Regions from separate parts of the Homo sapiens genome. Here all the other regions are linked to region 1. Evidence: promoter capture Hi-C in 16 types of primary human blood cells and fetal thymus (Javierre and others, 2016). All regions are on one chromosome and are shown on one strand. Each heading gives the region's core, a stretch centred on a gene start or on the middle of the fragment in contact. The rest is flanking DNA. Distances are from core to core; before and after follow the strand shown.

Evidence for each region. The method cuts DNA at HindIII sites, captures the fragments that hold promoters and counts their contacts. A CHiCAGO score of 5 or more calls a contact.
Region 2: the fragment with the promoter of ATF6 here is called in contact with the fragment with the promoter of ADAMTS4 in region 1 in 1 of 17 cell types (neutrophils); the score reaches 5.8 in neutrophils.
Region 3: a contact is called between the fragment with the promoter of DUSP12 here and the fragment with the promoter of ADAMTS4 in region 1, in 7 of 17 cell types (erythroblasts, naive B cells, neutrophils and 4 more). The highest score is 7.7, in erythroblasts.

What each region holds. Positions count from the first base shown.
Region 1 is chr1:161,197,078-161,200,697 of GRCh38, forward strand. ADAMTS4 (ADAM metallopeptidase with thrombospondin type 1 motif 4) reads right to left here and starts at 1,977. Exons shown (of 9, transcript NM_005099.6): 1 at 918-1,977. The coding sequence starts at 1,550. It also overlaps a transcript of NDUFS2 not described here. RefSeq lists enhancers at 1-716, 3,242-3,620. The HindIII fragment of the contact is 11,321 bases long and covers 1-3,620 here.
Region 2 is chr1:161,764,331-161,767,950 of GRCh38, forward strand. ATF6 (activating transcription factor 6) reads left to right here and starts at 1,990. Exons shown (of 16, transcript NM_007348.4): 1 at 1,990-2,112. The coding sequence starts at 2,031. ATF6-DT (ATF6 divergent transcript) reads right to left here and starts at 1,817. Exons shown (of 3, transcript NR_187280.1): 1 at 1,500-1,817; 2 at 1,094-1,171. LOC124904444 (a long non-coding RNA gene) reads left to right here and starts at 2,119. Exons shown (of 2, transcript XR_007066695.1): 1 at 2,119-2,476. RefSeq lists enhancers at 99-268, 1,808-1,887, 1,918-1,997. The HindIII fragment of the contact is 8,902 bases long and covers 1-3,620 here.
Region 3 is chr1:161,747,713-161,751,332 of GRCh38, forward strand. It overlaps DUSP12 (dual specificity phosphatase 12), which reads left to right and starts at 2,074. Exons shown (of 6, transcript NM_007240.3): 1 at 2,074-2,433. The coding sequence starts at 2,090. RefSeq lists enhancers at 72-151, 252-301, 1,873-2,382, 2,444-3,090. The HindIII fragment of the contact is 617 bases long and covers 1,853-2,469 here.

The DNA.
Region 1 (3,620 bases), core at 727-3,226:
ACTCTGAGGAGTCAGCAGCTGGTTCTAAGAAGGGGAGGAGAAGGGGACGCCACATCCCAGGGCTGCGGGAGCCCCAGAGGTGAAAGCAGCCTGGACTGCCGTCAGGAGGGACTTTGGGGTTCTCCAGGCCTGAGTGTGGCTGGGGCCTATGGGACCAGGGCTAGAGGGCTGGGCTGCAACGTGTCTGCCCTGTGTGGTTGGAGGAACGATTCAGTCAGCAGCTAGGGCCAGGGCCAGAGCTCAGCGTGGCGGTTGTGGAGGGAGCGTCTGGTCTGGATTAAAGCTAGAGAGGGAGGAGGGAGGAGGGAAGGGAAGAAGGGGGAGACCAGGAGTGGGAGGGAGGAAAGGATGGAGCCTCAGGCAGCCTCGCAGTCCGGCCACAGTGTGTGAAGGGGATTGACCAGAAGGAGGTATGGGATACCCTCCCTCTCTTGCCACTCCTGCCCTAGTTTGCAGTTTGCCACAGTGATTTTAAAGGCAGCATCAGAAGCCAGACACCAAGCCCTAGGGCCTCAAACCTGACTCCTATAGCTGGGAGTGGGGGATGAAAATCAAATTTGGAGCAGAGAAAAGAGCCAAGGCCAAGGGGCTGTTAGGAGACCTTTACTGCTGGGGACTGTGTCAGTAGGAGATGCCATGGCCAGGAAGGGGTGGGGTGGGGAGAGGGAGCAGTTATTCCCAGCCCAGAGTCTGTGACCCACCTCTGAGAACCCTCGGTGGGTCTGGCTAGGAGAAGGGTGAAGGGGAGAGGCCTGAGCCTTACCAAGAAAGGAGGCTCATGGAGAAAGGAAAGGCAGGCAGAAGGGAGGGAAGCAGAACGGCCAGAAGTGTAAGTGGGTGGAGAGAGGGTGAATAGGGGTCAGTAGGACAGACATGGCGGGAGGACACCGCAGGACACAGACTCCAGAGATGCCTACCTTGGCTCTTCGGGGTCTGGGGCTGGGGCTTCCAAGAGGAGCCTTGACGTTGCACATGGGACCTTGACCGCTGGCAGGACTCTTCCGGCGTAGGATGTGAGCCCCAGGTCCCCCAGCAGAGTTAGGGGTGCCTCCCTCCAGGGGCTGGAGGTGGAGTTCAGCCCCCCGATATTGTAACACGCCTAACAGGGCTCCCCCATCCCAGTGCAGAGATGCCACCGACTCCGGATCTCCATTGATGGTGCCAGTCAGGTAGGTGCCAGGCTCTGCTCCACCCAGCAGCTCAGGCGCCTGGCCCAGGTACTGCACTGTCAGCCCCTCGACCTGCACACCGGAGTCCTGCTCCAGCTCTAGTAGCAGCGTCTCCCCAAAGGCCTGCAAGCGGCACAACAGCCTGGCAGGGGCGCCCGAGCCAGGCAGGACGCTGCCGTTGAGCTTCTCTGGAAACACGATCTCCTCCTCCCGGGGGAGGGGGCTGGCCAGCCGGGCTGAGGGCAGGAGAGAGGCCAGCAGTAGCAGAAGCAGCCACACCAGCCAGGAGAGCGGCACAATGGGGAGCAGGAGGCAGGGTTGGGCTCCCCACAGCCAGCGCCCTGCCAAGCCCCTCCCGGGATGCGAGCCTGTCTGGGACATGGCACTGGTACTGCAGCTGGGAGGGACTGAGGCCGTCTAGGGCACCAAGTCCTCCACACCCTAGCTTTGGAAAGCTCCTCTCTGTAGCCTGGGGGCTTGGACTCCTGCCAAGGTCAGAGGCAAAGTTTTCAGAAGGGCTGAGGACCGTTAAAGGAAATGGAGAAAACTTAGTCCTTGGGCTTGGGAGAGGTGCCCAGGGGTCTGGCTTCTCCAAACTCTCCTCCTGAGCCCTCCTTTCCTGGATCTTTGTCTCTCCCTGCCTGTGTCTTCTGCAGCTTCTCTGGCCTCTCCCTCTGTAGGACTCTGTCTGGGCCGCTTCTGTGCCTGCCCTGTCTCTGCCTTCTTCCGCTGTGCCTTTGTCTCTGTCTCTTTCCTCCTCTGTCTCTCTCGTGCATATGTGTCTGTGGGTCTCCCTGTGGGTTCTCCCCAGCCTCTCTCCGCGCCAGCTCTTTTAAGCATGGTGAGCCTCTGCGATTGATTGGCTGATCTCTAAGCCACTCAGCTGAGCTCTGTCGGTGGGACTCAGATGGGTGTATCATCGCTTCCCAAAAAAATGGGACTTGCCCAGGGGAGGGGAATCTCTAGCAGCCGAATGGATAATAGGCACTGGGCCAGCTGATGACATAGCCTTTTCCCAAACCCCACAATCAGCCCTCAGCTGTCTCTTTCCCTTTTTGGTGGGACAGAGCCCCAGGAGAGGCAGAGAGTGAGGGAAAGGGCCTGGCCGGCATGCACAGATAGGATCACGGTCCTGGGAGAATTCCTGCTCTTATAGTCTAACCTACCATGGCTTCTCTTTTCTCAAGGCTCCCTCATGCTGCCCTTTGGCCCTAGTGGCTGGTTTCCAGGGCTGAGGGGACTGAGTGAGCTGCCTGAGAAAAGAGGGTAGGGAACAGGTAAGGAGGCATCAAGAGGGAAGAACAAATAAAAGAGGTAGCTTGACATGGCTCAGGATAGAACTGAGCAGCTGGGAAGAGTAAAAAAGGCAGAACATTGGGGGAGGCAAGGAGACAGTGATCAGGGAGTTGACTGCCCAAAGGTAGGATGATCCTGCTTGGAATGAACATAACAGAGGCGGCAGATGACAAGGCAGGAGGGGTTAACGACTTTTCCTTTTATAGAAGGCGGATCCAGGGTGGCACCTCCTCTTTTCTAACGTCCCTTCTCTCCCTCAGGATCCCCCTTCCTGAGTTACCACTACCCACCCCCTCCAAAGCCCAGAACAGCCATTCCGCCTCCATTTCCCCCCAGGGTTCCCCCTCCCCACTTCCTGACTCCCCATTTCCCTGGCCCAGCTCCCAGTAGCTTCCCCCAGGCTTTTGGCCCTGCTCCTACCCACTCCCAACTGCCCTAAACCCTCCCCCAGCCTCAAGTCAGCCAGCCCCCAGCATAGGCAAGACTTGCTCTCAGGAACCCAGATTCACCCAGTATCAATCTGGGAGAATCCCCACCTGGCTCCCACCATCCACCCCACCTTGCTCTGAGAACCCAGTGGTTCCTGGAATATCTAGTCATCTTTTCTTTTTAATTCTCCCTGGGGCAGGGAGAGGGTGGAGACAGCATTGTGCATATAGGGAAATTAGGGTACTGGGAGAAATCCATTGCCTGGGGTGGGGAAAGTGGCTGGGGAGGAAGAGGTGGTGTTAGGGAAAGGAAGCAAATTATTCCTTTGGCTTTGGATAGGAGGGAACTCGGAAAAGAGGTCTTGGGTATGAACTCTCAAGGCAAGGAAGGGTTCAGAAGTAGGGGCAATTTCTGCTCACCCCATCCTCTGGCTGCTTGTTTCCCCAGGAAATCCCCAGGAAGGAGAGTGCAGTCAGCAGTCTCTTTCCTTTCCCAGAAGTGGACCACCTCCTCTTGCCTCTATTCCCCTATTCACTCTGCTTTGTCACCTCCTGTCCCCCGCATATCATATCCGTCAGAATACTTCCTTTCCCCCTCCCTTCCTGCTCAGGTCGGTAATACCTGCCCTGGTGCCTATCACTTCCTGGATCACCCACCCCCTTGTGACTGCCAGACCCACCTCTTGACCCACCACTTGCCTGACCCTGGTTCTAAGCCAACGGGGCT
Region 2 (3,620 bases), core at 740-3,239, 570 kb after region 1:
AAAAAAAAAAAAAAGAGGGAGAGAGAGAGAGAAATTGAGATTCATTCAAGGAAATACCATGGGTAGATCCTTAATATCCAATAAGAAAAATGATTTGGAGAACATTAAAGTTTACATACATTAAAAAAACCCAAATGACACTAAATGCATGTGTCTATAAACATGTTTAAGCACCGTAAAACTAAAAATAAAAGTGGACTAGAATTACACTTTTATTTTTATAAAATAAAATTTTATACCCATAAAATTCATGGTAGAAGTGGCCTACGCCAAGGGAGGAAAATGAAGCAGGGAGGAAAGAGGAATTCAATTCTGTAGTATTTAATTTCTTATGAAAAATCTGGGACAAAAATGAAAAATGTTAAATTTTTAAATTCTTGGTGATAGGTCACAAATGTTTGTTTCATAATTACTTGCACTTTTTGAATAAAAATAAAATCTTTTGGAAATTAAAAAAATTGGCGATTTGTCATGGTGATTTTCTTAAAAGACTAAGGTGTCTAGTGGGATACAGAAGACTCGATGATTTTATTTTATTTTAGGTTTTTTTTTTTTTTTTTTTTTTGAGACGCAGTCTCGCAATGTCGACCAGGCTGGTGTGCAGTGGTGCGATCTCCGCTCGCTGCAACCTCTGCCTCCCGCGTTCATGCGATTCTCCTGCCTCAGCCTCCCGAGTAGCTGGGATTACAGCTACTTGCCCGCCACCACGCCTGGCTAACTTTTTGTATTTTTAGTGGAGACAGGGTTTCACTATGTTGGCCAGGCTGGTCTCGAACTCCTGACCTCGTGATCCGCCCGCCTCGGCCTCCCAAAGTGCTGGGATTACAGGCGTGAGCCACCGCGCCCGGCCTTATTTTAGTTTTTTATGTCAATTTTTGAATTTGTAATTGGGTGAGAATTAAAGTGTTATAAATTTCACCTTAAGTGAAAATTTATTAGTTTTCTAATGACAAAAGTAGTTACATCTGACGTAAGGGGATTTAATTATCTTTTTCTGGGCTTGCGTCCCGGAACGCTGCTGCATTATGTAATCTGTAGTAATATACCCACGAGCAGTTTGGAGGGTTCTGGGAAGCACATTTGTTTTGCTTACCTACCATGGGAAAGATTCCACGTGGTCCTAGAAGCATACGTATTCGTCGGTTACAGTATTTTAAATATTCACTGGCCGCTGAAATTTAAAATGGATGAAAAAGAAATTCTCTTAAGTAGCGTTCTTGAAACTGCTTTATCAAACTCAGTTCATATTTTCAGTTGGAGTTCGTGATGTATGTGATTTTCCTTTAAATAAAACCCGAATCTTTAGTAATACAAATATTGGGAACTTCGATTACTGTAGGTCTTAGGGTAGACTCGCTTGGACTTTGACTAAATACTATGCTTTAGAAATTTATCTTTAGGAGATAAATTTGGGGGGTTTATCTTTTTATATTTGCTTTGTTTCAATTTATTTAAATAAAAGTAGTCTTTCTAGAAGTATGTTTTATAGTACCACTTACCTCGGTTACTGTCCCAGTTAAGCAGTTTTCACGAATGTGGAAAAATAGTAGTGTTTTTCTTTCATACACGCGTATATGAAAAATTTTTACATTGATAGAGAATTATTCGTAAAAATTAAAGTAAATTTACTGTTAGTCTCTAATTTTGTTCTGAGATAGCCACGCTGTGGCATTAAGAAGGATAATCAAGGAATAAGCCATAATGTTCAGAAAGGGGCTTTACTTTTTATTTTTAATATTATTGATAAACTTTGTTTAGTCGAATTGATGTCTGCGTGTCTTCCCCCGCCTTCCCCATAAAACAGCGGGACAGAAAGTCCTGAAAACTCCAAAAGGGAAATATTTACTCAGAGGTCTATTCAAATTTGCTTAGTCTCTGACGTTTTCCTGTGTCGTACAAATCCCTCGTGCGGCAAAAGTAGTTTGTCTTTACTAGGCCACCGTCTCGTCAGCGTTACGGAGTATTTTGTCCGCCTGCCGCCGCCGTCCCAGATATTAATCACGGAGTTCCAGGGAGAAGGAACTTGTGAAATGGGGGAGCCGGCTGGGGTTGCCGGCACCATGGAGTCACCTTTTAGCCCGGGACTCTTTCACAGGCTGGATGAAGATTGGGGTGAGTGGGATCTGAGAATGTACCAGGGTGGCTCGGGTTCGCGTCTAAAGGTTTCTTCCTCCCTACTTCCGCCCACTCGTGGTGACAGGTGTGGACCAACCCTGCCTGGGGAGTGAGGCCCCTCGTCACTCCTGTTCGTGCCCCTGGAAGAGTCTGGGAGTATCGTTCGGCTTCTGTCCTGGCCACAGGGAGAGTAGAATATTGTCTAACTGGAGTTAACTGTCGTTTTTCACTATTCCCACTGGGGAAGTACCGGGTGATCTTTTTGTGTGGCTAACACTGGACGTCTTTAGGAGGTTTAGAGCAAAATGGCTGGGACCGCCAAAAAGGCTACAAGCTATTTCCTGAGTGTGAAATGTGGGCGGTGAGCACAATGGAGTGGGTTTTTGTGTGTTTGGTGTATATGAGAGAATGTGGTTATATACAAGAAATTCTAATCTTACAGCTTTTACTATTGGTTTAAGCCTGATGTCCGTCTTGGCAGAAAAGCAAAACACCCAAGCACCTGACCTCGGGTCCCTGCTTAGCTACACCTAATACTTATGGTGTAATCCTGACTGCTCTCCAGATACAGCTCTTAATTTTCTTGTTAATGGATATTTTGTTTGGTTTTGGTGGTCAGGAAGGGTGGAATGGGATGAAGTGGAAATGAGAATGAAGAAACTTTGTTATCTAAGTATTTAGAGGAGACTTTTATTCTCCTCTTGATTGCAAGATATAATAGTAATATTGTTCTTAGGTTCCAATATGAATTTGGGATTGTGTAGGTTCCCAAATGGGCCCGCTAGTGAGCCTACACCACTCATCAGCCTTGGAACTGGGGGGAACCCAGTTTATCTTTCTCCCTTGGATCAGCATTCTCAATAGCAGGAGTGGAAGGAATCTCAACTTTTTATTGAACAAAGTCATTTAATTGTTTCAAGGACAGATGTTCTCTAAAACTATATTCTATTGGAGATTTATTTTAATCCTTGGGTAGATTTTTTAAGAGTTGCTGGAAAACTTAAGATTTTTTATTCCCATTTTCCCAAGCCAAATGCATTAGTGACAGTAACCATTTATTTAGCTCTTTGTGTCAGGGACCCTGTTAAACTCTTGACATGAAGTATTTTGTTTAATCCTACCAACAGTCCAATGAGGTACTGTTTATTTTAGAGATGAGGAAACTGAGGCTAACAGAATTTGTGCTCAGATTCTTAGAGCTAGTTAGTGGCAGAAGAAGGATCAGACCAGGTTTTTCTACCTCCAAAGTCTGTACCCCTAGCATCTATTCTATAATGCTTTCCTAACTCATGTCTACAGATTTTATTCTTCCTAAGATCCCTGGTTATTAATAAGACTACTTGAATATATTGGGTAGTTATGATTTATTTTGTCAGCTAGTCAGCTATTATATTTTCATGACATTTCTTTTCTTTACCTCTTTTTTTGAGATGGAGTTTCGCTTTTGTTGCCCAGGCTAGAGTGTAATGGCGCAATCTTGGCTCACCGCAACCTCCGCCACTCGG
Region 3 (3,620 bases), core at 824-3,323, 550 kb after region 1:
AGGCAAAACTCAGGCTGCACCTGCACAGATAAGCAGGTAGGGTCCAGCACAGACGCTTTTCATTCTTCGTGTAATTGGCGAGCTCCCAGGAAAAACTTTCCTCCCCTTTTCAGGTATATACACAGTGGACTCCGTGGGAACTTGCACAGGAAGGAGGGGGGCTTACCTAAAACAAACCTACAGTGATACAAACAAGAGAACCCACGCTTTGTGCTTGCCTAGAGACATACCCACATCGGCAGAAGATAAGGGAAGTTGCACAGACAGATTTATTCATAAGAGAAGTTACTCAAACAACTATAGAGATGAGAGGAGTTTCTTATAATAGGTTTTGAATTCAGCTGTAAAAATGGCACCCCACTTGGGCTCCCCTCTCTGCTGTGGAGAGCTTTCTTCTTTTGCTTATTAAACTTTTGCTTCAACCTCACTCTTTGTGCCCATGCTCCTTAGTTTTCTCGGTCGTTAGACAAGTTCGGATAACACCTTAGACAATGAGACCATTAACCCTTACCTGTTTCAACATTTTTATCAAATCCAAGGCCATGAAGCTTTCCCCCTATGTTTTCTACTAAGAATGTTATATTTTTAGGTCTTTAATCTATTTGGAGTTATTTTTTGTGTATGGTCCAAGGTAAAGGTCCATCTTCATTCTTTTGCATGTGGATATCTAGTTTTTCCCAACACTGTTGAGGAGATTGTCCTTTTTCCATTGTGTGGTCTTGGCACTCTTTTTGAAGATTATTCTAACATATATGCAGTGTTGCAGGTGATTAGCAGCTTTCTGGGCTGGTGACATGGGTGGTAGGAAGAATTTACCAACACAGTTGTAGGTAAAGAAAGGCAGGTTTATTAGATAAAGTATGAAAATACATTGCAAGGGTGCAACAGGCAGGTCAGCAAGAGAGAAGCTGACTGCTAGGAAACAAAGGCTTGCTGGGGATTTTGTAGAATGGTGCTTATGTTGTGGGTGGAAGAGGGCTTTGTGCAGTACTAATAATGCCAGGGTTGCAGTGAACTAACTTCCATTTTTCTATCAGCTGAGGGTCTGGTGATGGCTGGGCACAGGCAGATTGTGAGTTATTTGCACAGCAGGGCTATGTGTCCTGGACCACGAAGAAAGGCAGACTTATGGCTTGTCTGCTTTCTCCTTTTGCTTCCCTTCGTCCAGCCAGCCTGACTCCTTTTCCCTAATTAGGACTCCACACGCAAGGGTTTGTTCTGTTCCAGAATAGAGACACGTCGATGTATCTATCTTTATACCAGTACTATAGCTGCTACTTCTTGACCAATTACAGCTTTAGTATCTCTCTCACCTGTCCTCCCTATACAAAAGATATATAAAATATACTCACTGTACTGAGTATCTTCCTGCAGCATTCAGTCTGGAGCAAAGCCTGCTTCCTTCAACCCTTTCCAAAATCCCCAAATAAAAGCCCAAAATCTGTAGAGGATCTTCCTAACATCCTCGTGCTGAGATGCCCTGAAATTCTCCATAACTCATGACTGAGTAATAAAACCAACTTGCTTAATTAAAGTTGGTTTCTTGTAGTCCTGGCCGGAGGACATTGACTTACAAAAATATAGGATTAGTATCTTCAAAATAAATAGACAGTAAACATCAACAAGGATTCACACCCCAATAATGAAATTGGGCAGAAAAAGGAAAAATAATCATGAAATGCACAGTAAAGATGGCTCCATAATATTGAAAAAAATTTTACTTCAAATGCATAAAATGATGCTTCTGATTCAGCTGGTGCGACATTTATTTCACATTTGAGTTCAGCTGCTCCTGATGTCTCTTTCCTGAAAATTTCAATACTAAGAGCTCGAGAAACCCTGTATTTGGGGAAGCTTATCCTTCACCATCAACTTTGGGGGTAGGGGTCAGAGGGAACAAGGGTGGAAAGGCCGCGCTGAATGGGGCCGAAGCTCCGCCCCTCAGCGATAAGTCCAGATTCCTGCGGCCGACGTGGTCCTCCGAGGGAGCAGCAGAGCCGCCGAGGCTGGCGAGTCCCAGGGGAAGGATGTTCTAGCCGGAGTCTACTCGATGGTAGGGCAGGAAGCCGCCTTGTCTCTGGGCGCGGCCATGTTGGAGGCTCCGGGCCCGAGTGATGGCTGCGAGCTCAGCAACCCCAGCGCCAGCAGAGTCAGCTGTGCCGGGCAGATGCTGGAAGTGCAGCCAGGATTGTATTTCGGTGGGGCCGCGGCCGTCGCGGAGCCAGATCACCTGAGGGAAGCGGGCATCACGGCCGTGCTAACAGTGGACTCGGAGGAGCCCAGCTTCAAGGCGGGGCCTGGGGTCGAGGATCTATGGCGCCTCTTCGTGCCAGCGCTGGACAAACCCGAGACGGACCTACTCAGCCATCTGGACCGGTGCGTGGCCTTCATCGGTCAGGCCCGCGCTGAGGGCCGTGCGGTGTTGGTGCACTGGTGAGTGGCCGGGTCAGTGGGTGACGTGCCCCGCCAAGCTTCCAGCCGGCCCCCGTCGCCCCTTACCTTCCGAGGCCGTCGGGAGGACAAGAGCGCGGTCATGCCGCGTGAACCTCCTCCCGCTGCCTCCCGCAGGAGGCGTGTTTCCAAGAGAGGAGGAGGGTTGAGGCGGGCCCCTGGTGTGTGCAGGCTTTCATTCATTCATGCTTTAGTTGGTTCTTCCTGCAGCAGCAGAGGGCGGGGGAGGTGTCATCTGATAAATGACAAATTACCTACACCCTAAGGAGTTTACAGCTCTGTTGGAGAAGCTAGACACCCACCCCGATTATTGTAATGCAGATTAGGTTGCTTGGTGTCTTGTAAACGGGATTTACAAAGATTTAGGGTTAAATGTTTTTGTTTGGGATGGGTGGCGGGTGGTTGATGAAGAGATGAATTGGTTTGGATCTAAAGGATCCCTGGGCTTTGCCTAGGGAGGAGATGGTTGCAGCAAAGACAAAAAGAAAATGGGAATCCCGCAGGGCGCGGTGGCTCACGCCTGTAATCCCAGCACTTTGGGAGGCAGGAGGATCACAAGGTGAGGAGTTCGAGATCAGGCTGGCTAATATGGTGAAACCAAAAATACAAAAATTAGCCGGGCGTGGTGGCTCTCGCCTGTAGTCCCAGCTACTCGGGAGGCTGAGGCAGGAGAATCACTTGAACCTGGGAGGCGGAGGTTGCAGTGAGCCGAGGTCATGCCACAGCACTCCAGCCTGGGCAACAGAGCGAGACTCCATCCCTCCCCCCAAAAAAAGAAAATGGGAATCCCTAAGCAGTTCTTGGTTGGATTGGAGTATAATAATCGTTTAAATTTATTGAGCACATAAAAGAAGATAGTGATGAAATCAAAAGAAGTCTGGGACCAGATTTTGAGGTCCCTGAATGCTAAGATGAAAGGAGATTGGATTTGTTTTTGTTTTGTTTTATTTATTTTTATTTTGATATAGGGTCTTGCTCTGTCACCCAGGCTACAGTGTAGTAGCGTAATTACGGCTCACTGCAGTCTCAACCTCCCAGGCTCAAGTGAACCTCCTGCCTCGGCCTCCAGAGTAGCTGGGACTACAGACCCCACCACATCCGGCTAATTTTTTGTAGAGGTGGGGTCTCACTTTGTTGCCCAGGCTGGTCTCCAACTCTTGGACTCAACC